Regions from separate parts of the Homo sapiens genome. Here regions 1 and 2 are each linked to region 3. The links are contacts of gene promoters, found by promoter capture Hi-C in blood cells and fetal thymus (Javierre and others, 2016). All regions are on one chromosome and are shown on one strand. The core of a region is centred on a gene start or on the middle of the fragment in contact, and the rest is flanking DNA. Distances in the headings are between cores, read along the strand shown.

The links. Contacts are between HindIII fragments. The CHiCAGO score rates a contact against its expected background, and 5 or more counts as called.
Region 1: a contact is called between a fragment that was not itself captured here and the fragment with the promoter of STC1 in region 3, in 6 of 17 cell types (M2 macrophages, total B cells, naive B cells and 3 more). The highest score is 9.5, in M2 macrophages.
Region 2: a contact is called between a fragment that was not itself captured here and the fragment with the promoter of STC1 in region 3, in 1 of 17 cell types (total B cells). The highest score is 5.4, in total B cells.

What each region holds. Positions count from the first base shown.
Region 1 is chr8:24,175,707-24,178,406 of GRCh38, reverse strand. The region is part of intron 2 of LOC107986931 (a long non-coding RNA gene); the gene reads right to left. Among named protein-coding and RNA genes, the nearest start is that of ADAM28, 120 kb to the left of the region's middle. The HindIII fragment of the contact is 970 bases long and covers 927-1,896 here.
Region 2 is chr8:24,247,239-24,249,938 of GRCh38, reverse strand. No RefSeq gene overlaps it. Among named protein-coding and RNA genes, the nearest start is that of ADAM28, 45 kb to the left of the region's middle. The HindIII fragment of the contact is 2,231 bases long and covers 279-2,509 here.
Region 3 is chr8:23,853,396-23,856,095 of GRCh38, reverse strand. It overlaps STC1 (stanniocalcin 1), which reads left to right and starts at 1,290. Exons shown (of 4, transcript NM_003155.3): 1 at 1,290-1,690. The coding sequence starts at 1,573. The HindIII fragment of the contact is 2,191 bases long and covers 1-1,466 here.

The DNA.
Region 1 (2,700 bases), core at 162-2,661, 320 kb before region 3:
ATCTAAATATTCATAATCAAATGAAGGTAAATATTCTAGCTATAACTTGGAATGAAACCCTTTTATATGCTATATTTTAAGATTCTATCAGTTGAATGAAATATAAATATATCTATGTATTATTGCAAGAAAAATGCTTCTATAATTAATGACTGAAAGCTGTTAACTTTATATATAAAAACAAATATTAAAAACTTTCAAGTAGTTGAATAGAGTAATATATTTATAGTTAATTTGAGAATACTAGACAGATTATGCAGCACTATCTAACTGTATGGAAAACATAGTCCTAATATAAAACAACAATATTTAAAAATCTATATAATAGAAATTGTAAAAAGGAAAAAATCTTTATAATTCTAGTAATTTATAGAGTAATTCTATCCTCGCATTCCTAATAGTATATGAAGCAATCCTTACTAATTTTTAGATAATTCCACCTATACTGCAAAGCTTATTTAAAAGCATCCTACTCATGAATTTTCATATCTATAAGGATGGATTAAAAGCCACATTTCCAGGAAAAGAAAAATTTCCAAAATCGTGTACAAAACATTCACACTAAATTACTTTGATTCAAAGCAATAAACACTATAAATAAATAGTCTGAAGAAGGAAAAATTAGAAACAAATAAAGGTATCCCAAGCACCATTATTTTTCACTAAGTAAATTTCAAAACTATTACAAAAGTATTTTAATAATATTTGTCTTATAGTTCTGACTCTAGAAGAAAATATTGAAGGTTTGACAGCTCAGTGGAGTAAGAATGATTTCCACTATATGTCTGCTTTGCTTGCTTGCTCAGAGAATTCTGTGTCCCACATAAACTAACACAGTGAATTTCATTGAAGAAATTCATATAAAATGGAAAATAAAACAATGTTATGCAACCGATGTTGAAAATGGCACAGATGTGGTCTAAGCTTTAAGTAATTAAGAAGCCAAAAGCATACATTGTTTTGTTAACACCAATTAATTGTATATTCAGAAAGAAATTGTAGTACAAGATAATGTTAAAAAAAAAAAAATCCATTGCCTTATCAGGAATGTACTGGGAATTTTGCATTTTTTTCTAGCTGAAGACAAACTACATAATATATAAGAGATTTGAGTACTGCCTTATCAAATACCTATGCAAGATATTCAAATGTGGTAAAATTGCAATTACAGGTCAAAAAGACTTCTTGAATAAAATAAATATTTAATAATTTATTTACAGACAACCCACAACCAACCAGCGTGACCTATTTCATCAATAGTTTCTTACAGAAAATGAAGTGAGTGTGATGGGCACTGCTGAAGAAGTAACCAAACAGAAGAATTTCAAAACTTTATCAATTTCTTATATTTTATCTGCTGCAAACATCCTTCTATTATTCCACTCAGGTAAAATGCTAAAATTAATATTCATTAAATGGAAACTACATTGGAGTTACAGACAATAAATCAAAGGCAATTTTTGTTATCTTGAAAACTAATTACATTGCTTTCATTTCTGCATTTCTGTGTCTGTAGTTTAAGGGCATTTTCCCCGCAGTGATTATGTAAAACAGCAAGTGAATGCAAAACAATCTTAGAAATAAAATATATAAGTGAAGGCAGTAATTCTAAGCCTGAAATCTGAAAATACTCAGAAAACATCCTTTTTTCAAATACTATATCAAACTTTAGTTTATAAGATTGCTTCAAAGAAATTGCATTATATAATACAAATCAAGTTCAGGGGTTATGTCAGGAGATGGGTGAAAAATGTAATAATTAGGTGATAGCATCGCTACAAGTTGGACACTGTCAGCAGCAGGAGTAAAAAATGATCTTGGTCATTCACCAGTTTCAGTTGAAAGTAAGCATGTATTTAGTAAGGCAAACATTCAGTACAGTGACAGAAGCAAGCTTGTAGATTAAGGTACTGGGAAATTAACATTCTTCCATTTCTATGCCAAACTTATAAAATTTGACTATTCAATTACAAATTAAAAATTGTAATAATGGTTAATTTGTTGGTATTCTAATTCCCATATCATGAAGTTTCTTCCCTGAAAGTAATATTTGCCTTTTGCTAAATATTGATTTTAAGCACTGGCCCATTAAGTCCAAAGATATGTTCAGAGGCCCTGCCAAGTATCAGGCTTTCGAGAGATAGTGAATAAAACCAAGAGGCTGTTCCCAACCTTCCAGTGCTTATATTCCAGTAGGAGATGATAGGAAAGAAACAAAGGTACACCAGATGTCTAAAATGCTATGAAGACAAAGCAAACAGGGTAAGGAATGGACAGGAGGAAGGTTATTCTCGGTAAGGTCGTCCTGGGGAAGGCCACAGAAATAAGTAGGAAAGAGCATTCCTGGCAAAGAGAACAGCCTATGCAAATGCCTAAGGCAAGAACATGACAGATATGTTTAAGAGAACCAAGGATGAACGTTAATACCAGAAGATAGAACAAAGGAGAAAGTGATGGGAGATAAAGTGGGAGAACAAATGGTAAAGACTTTGAAACTTTTAGCAAGTATAATGAGAAACCTTTGGGGGGATTTGGCAGTCAAGTGAAATAATTTGACTTATATTTTTAAAAACTGTCACTTAGAGAATAGACATCAGACATCATGGGAGTAGGGTATCTGAGTTGCAAGGACACAAATTTTACAGGATCCTTTCATAGGAATATCAGGAAGACTGTTGTAATTGTCCAGAGAAAATATCA
Region 2 (2,700 bases), core at 145-2,644, 390 kb before region 3:
TTCCTACCGCTCTATTCTCCCAGCTTTGCCTCTTGTCATTAAACTCTGCAACCAGCTGCTACTTATCAATGAAGGTGAGACAGCCAGGCTTGTTTTTCTATTCTCCATTTACAAATTTGTAAGTATATCAGATTTTATTGAAGGCTTAAGTAAAATAAGAATAACAACCTAGGAGAGCAAGTACTTAAAACTGTAGTTTTATTCTTATGGCAAGAAACTCAAGAAATAGACTACTTCCCTAAGTAGGCGCCATACGTATTCACCCCAGTGCCTAAGCTTGCTCCATGGTTAGGATGAAAGAGGGCACTATGATTAGCCATCTGGACAAGGGGTATAACTTAGAACTCTCCTGGGCACTTGGCATGTGTGGTCACCCTGCCTAGAGTCCTTACCTTTGTGCTTCTTTGTGAAATTGACCCTTCCTTCTAAATTCTGCCATGTGACTCTCTTTCTGCGTTTTGGGCTTCACCATCACCCCCACAATGCACGTTCCTCCCTCATGAAGTGGATTTTTCCCAGTCTGAATTATATTTGGAAATACACATGTATAATTTACAAAATTTCATATATTTGGCAAATCAGGAGGAAAACATTGGTCTGGATCTCTAACTCCTTCTATAAACGGGCTTAGGGAAGCCAGTGACATTTCAAACTTAAATCAAAATCTTTTCCAGTGACTTATACTCTTTATTCTCCAACAAGTAACTAATCACAAGTAACCCACCCCCCAACACACACACACACATCTTTCCAGAAGGACAAATATCAAATCTCACATATTATAGAATGTAGAGCCCTAAGAATGAAAATAAGTATGTTTTTCTGTCCCATAATCTACCATGACGTTCTTGAACTGAGAGATAATTCTTCGTTGTCAGGGGACGCCCTGTGCATGGTAGAATATTCAGCAGCTCCTCTGGCCTCCAGCCACTAGGTGTCAGTATGACTACCCCTGTGCTTTTGTGACCACCAAAAATGACTCCAGACATTGCCAAATATCACCTAAGGAGAATTCTCCCCAGTTCATAAATACTGCTCTAGAGTTAAAACTTTACTATGAATAGAAGTTTTAGTTATTTTGGTTTTATTTCCTCGTTTTCAGAAAACCAATCCCTCAGACTTGAAGGTACCAAGAAATAAACACAATATAGGGCAGTAAGTATCTTAATGTACATTCTCTTAGTTACATAAAGGCACATTGAAACTATTGAAATGATCATTTGTAAACACCCAAGTGAATTCTTAGCAAAAAGCCATCTTCTTCCTGGTCTGTCTGGGGGAGAGATGGTAGGCGGTGGTTTCATTCCTGCAGTTACCTGATGTTCCTGTGGAAAAAGCTATAACCCTAATATAACTATATCAGGTTGAGTAAGTTATTGAGCACACCTGGCTGAGCTGCACAGAGTGTTTTCTGGAAGATGCATTTTAGCACCAAATCCTATTAGAATTCAGGTAGGGGAGGGACTAGTGTCTGGTTGGGCCATATCTACCTGAGCTGCCTATTTAGGTAGCTCATGAGAGAAAAGAGAATTATTTCTCTGCTAGGTAATTTACCTCTGCTATCTCAGGCTCTCAAGAATTTAGTAGTTTAGGACTCATTATTTTTGTTGTTGAAGAAATTTTGACTCAGAGAATTTCTAATGCAACTAAATCACCTAGTTAACAACTGTTGCATCTGGGAGCCATAGCCGATGTGATTCCTGATAAAAGGTCTTGATACTACAGAAGTCAATTCTTATAAATCTTACTCAAAATCTCCTAATTCAGAGAGGAGTAATAGTTGACAAAGTATTAGGTTGAGCCACAGTGGCACAGAGAAGGAGGTATAATTTGCCAATTGTTCCCCAGAATTCATTTTGCTATTCTTCTGCCAAAAGATTGTGGAGAATCCACCCTGCCATCATTATCCAGCAGGAGGCTTGGGAAGGACCACCCCCTCCCAGTTGCAGAAATGGCCCCTGGTTGGCTTATAGCCAACCAGCAGATCCTGCCTTCTGTTCTGTAAGGTTTGTGTAATATCCAATTCAGGCCAGAGAAAGGATACATCTCAGCATTCGCTTGGGATCTACCAGAAGAGAACCTCTCTGTACTCTTAAATAATGTAGGCTGAAGTTAACACCTGGAGCCACTGCAGCCATTTTGCTACCATGAATTGAGAGCTTAGCACTGTGTTGGGGTAAGTGGAGTGGGCTGCAGAATGGAGGGGTGGACATTGAGAGAGATGTCAATGCTGCAGAAAGCAGGATAAAGAGAGAGTGAGGACAGGTCCTGAGTAACATCGTCTGGATCTGAGTTGAGTCTCTCCTGAAGGTAGTCCCATATTTGGACTTTAAGTTAGAAACTGATTTCATTAATGTGAAAGTCAAAGTGGTCTGGAATTTCTGATACTTGAGACCAAATGAGCCCTAACTATTACAAGAAGTATGTAATCACATAATGAGGTCTTCTTGCTTGCTGCCCAGATAGAGCTGGTTTATCAAGACAGGGGAATTTCAGTAGAGAAAAAGCTTAATTCACACAGAGCTAGCTGAATGGGAGACTGGAGTTTTATTTTTCAAATCAGTCTCTCAGAAAATTTGGAGATGGGGGCTTTTTAAGGATAGTTTGGTGGGGGGCCAGGGAGTGGAGGAGTGCTGATGGGTTGGGTCAGAGATGAAATCATACGGGGTCAAATGGGTTTTTCTTGCTGCCTTCTATTCC
Region 3 (2,700 bases), core at 41-2,540:
CAAAATTATTAAAGGTTTTATTGTATAATACCTTCACCACCTTCCTACCCTAAGAAGTCCTCTTCTGGCTCATTAACCTCCTTCACATGTTGGGGACAAACCTCAGCATTGCCTACAACTCACTTATAAGAAAATATAAGTTTCTATACCAGGCATGATTTGTGATTGCAGTGCAATTTTCCTATTAAGTCTAGAGCTTATCATTCTTCTCTCCTACACATTCTGGTCTTTCTCTACCCCTTCTTTCCATTCTGCCCCCTTTTTTCCTACCCCTCTCCCCAAGAAATGAACTGGTTTCCATTCAGCAGGTTTAGTCTTGCTTTGGCCAGCTTATTGTTTCAAAGTGGTTATAAAGTTGCTGGGCTTGAACACAGATTATTAATTTTCAGGCATTCATGATGTCTCCCTGTTGAGTGTGGTATGTGCAGGTGTGCACATGTGTACCTGGGGTAACTAACACTCCTGGACTATGCAATTTTGCTGGTGACTGAAAAGATGAAGTCAAAGTTGATTTGATTATTGAAGAATCACATTATTTTAGAGGTATACAGAATGTCAGAGTCCAACTTTGGCGTTTTACAGATGGGAAAACGAGGTGGGGCAAGGTAAAAAGACTTAGCCAGAGTCATAGGTTGATCAGTAGGGGGACTAAGGCTTCAGCTCTGAGCTGTCATATCTCAGTCCCCCAAGGCTTTTCCACTCACATAAATTCCCCCTCAAGGGCTCAAATGTGTGAGTGAGAACCCAGGATGTCCACATACAAACAAAAATGCATCATAGACATGTGAACATGTACACACAGAGAAGATAGGGAGTTATTGCATTTGTAGCCTACAAAACAGAACCGAGAATGTGCTGTTAAAATTAGAGTAAAACTGCTGTAAGCAGGTTAAGTTCTCATCTAAAGAGATCACATTTCCCCACCATACCCCTGCTATCCATTTCCCCCAAGTGGCTCATTAGAAAAAAAGATGGCTAGATTTCAAAAAGCAACTTGGAGAGATTTCTATAGGATTTTTCTTTAGTTCAATCAATACAGAGTTATCTCTTACTTCCACGAAAATAGCTTTTTCACACATCTCTGCACACACAGTCACACACACATATAAAACATTGGCAGCAGGTACTTTTAATTTGCTGGAAAATATTTCTAAGAAGTCAAAAAGCTCCAGCTGAATTGCATGCCCTCTTATTGGCTCACCAGACCAGTTGAGGGACCTGATTGGTCCTTGATCCTGAGGACCGATAAGAACGGCTATAAAATCCCTGGGTGCAGCTCTTGGGCCCCCAGTTTGCAAAAGCCAGAGGTGCAAGAAGCAGCGACTGCAGCAGCAGCAGCAGCAGCGGCGGTGGCAGCAGCAGCAGCAGCGGCGGCAGCAGCAGCAGCAGCGGAGGCACCGGTGGCAGCAGCAGCATCACCAGCAACAACAACAAAAAAAAATCCTCATCAAATCCTCACCTAAGCTTTCAGTGTATCCAGATCCACATCTTCACTCAAGCCAGGAGAGGGAAAGAGGAAAGGGGGGCAGGAAAAAAAAAAAACCCAACAACTTAGCGGAAACTTCTCAGAGAATGCTCCAAAACTCAGCAGTGCTTCTGGTGCTGGTGATCAGTGCTTCTGCAACCCATGAGGCGGAGCAGAATGACTCTGTGAGCCCCAGGAAATCCCGAGTGGCGGCTCAAAACTCAGGTAAGCAGCAAACCCAAGAGCGGTTTCTCCCCCAAAGAGCTGTCCTCATTTGCCTCTCCCTTTTGCAACTGTGTCTGTGACGGCTGATCTTGATAATAAATGTGCTTCATGCCTGATGGCAATAAACTGCCAGTGTAATCCAATAGCCTTAGGCAGTGGAGCTCCTTTGTTTAATAAATTGCATGCAACTAAACGAAGAAGCTGGACGCTCTGCTGAGGGTATTTCATTGCATAAGCCTAGCCTGATTGCCTGAAATCTGGCACGTACCCTCTTGGAGGGGGAGGGGTGAGAGGGGAGGAAAGGCTTGAATGTTGGCATGCTTCAAAGCGCTCTCTATACTTTCCAGAAGCTGATCTAAGGTAAGACCTGGCTTGTTTGATGCTGTCCCTCTTCCTTTCCTCTTAAGACTCTACCTCTTCACTTCTTGACTTCTCTACCTAAGAGAATACACAGAAAAGCTCCCTCTTCAGACTGATTTTCAGAACCATAGCCCTCAAGTCTGACAAATCCAGGGCGGATTCAGAGAAAACCCTATACATCCCACCCCCAACCCTGCTGCCTGTCTCCCTCCTGGCTCTGTAGGGCTCCATTCAGTCGTCCCTGCAGCCCGTAGCCAGAGAGCCCCTAGAAAAAAAAAATTGTGAAACGTAGCAGCTGTTTCTCCAAGGGTAAGGTCTCACTTTCGTCTTGACTCTTGGAGCAGTTAATTGTGCATTATCTTGGCTTCTGAAGGAAAAGAATCATTAGGAAGCCTGCATTGACACCTCTGCCTCTTGACTTCTCTGGCTCCACTTGTTCCCCTTCCAATACTGCCCTCTGTCCTCCAACTGTCAGCAAAGACCGGATCACAGGTGTCAAAATGCTGCAGATGATGATCCCCTTGGAAGAGCACAGGTCCCTGCCGAGAGGAGGGCTTTTGCTTCACTTCCTTTTGTACTTAGTTGCTATAGAGATGCAGTGATTCACAATTCGAGCTTGCCTAAAACAATAGCAGCCCTAATGCATATTA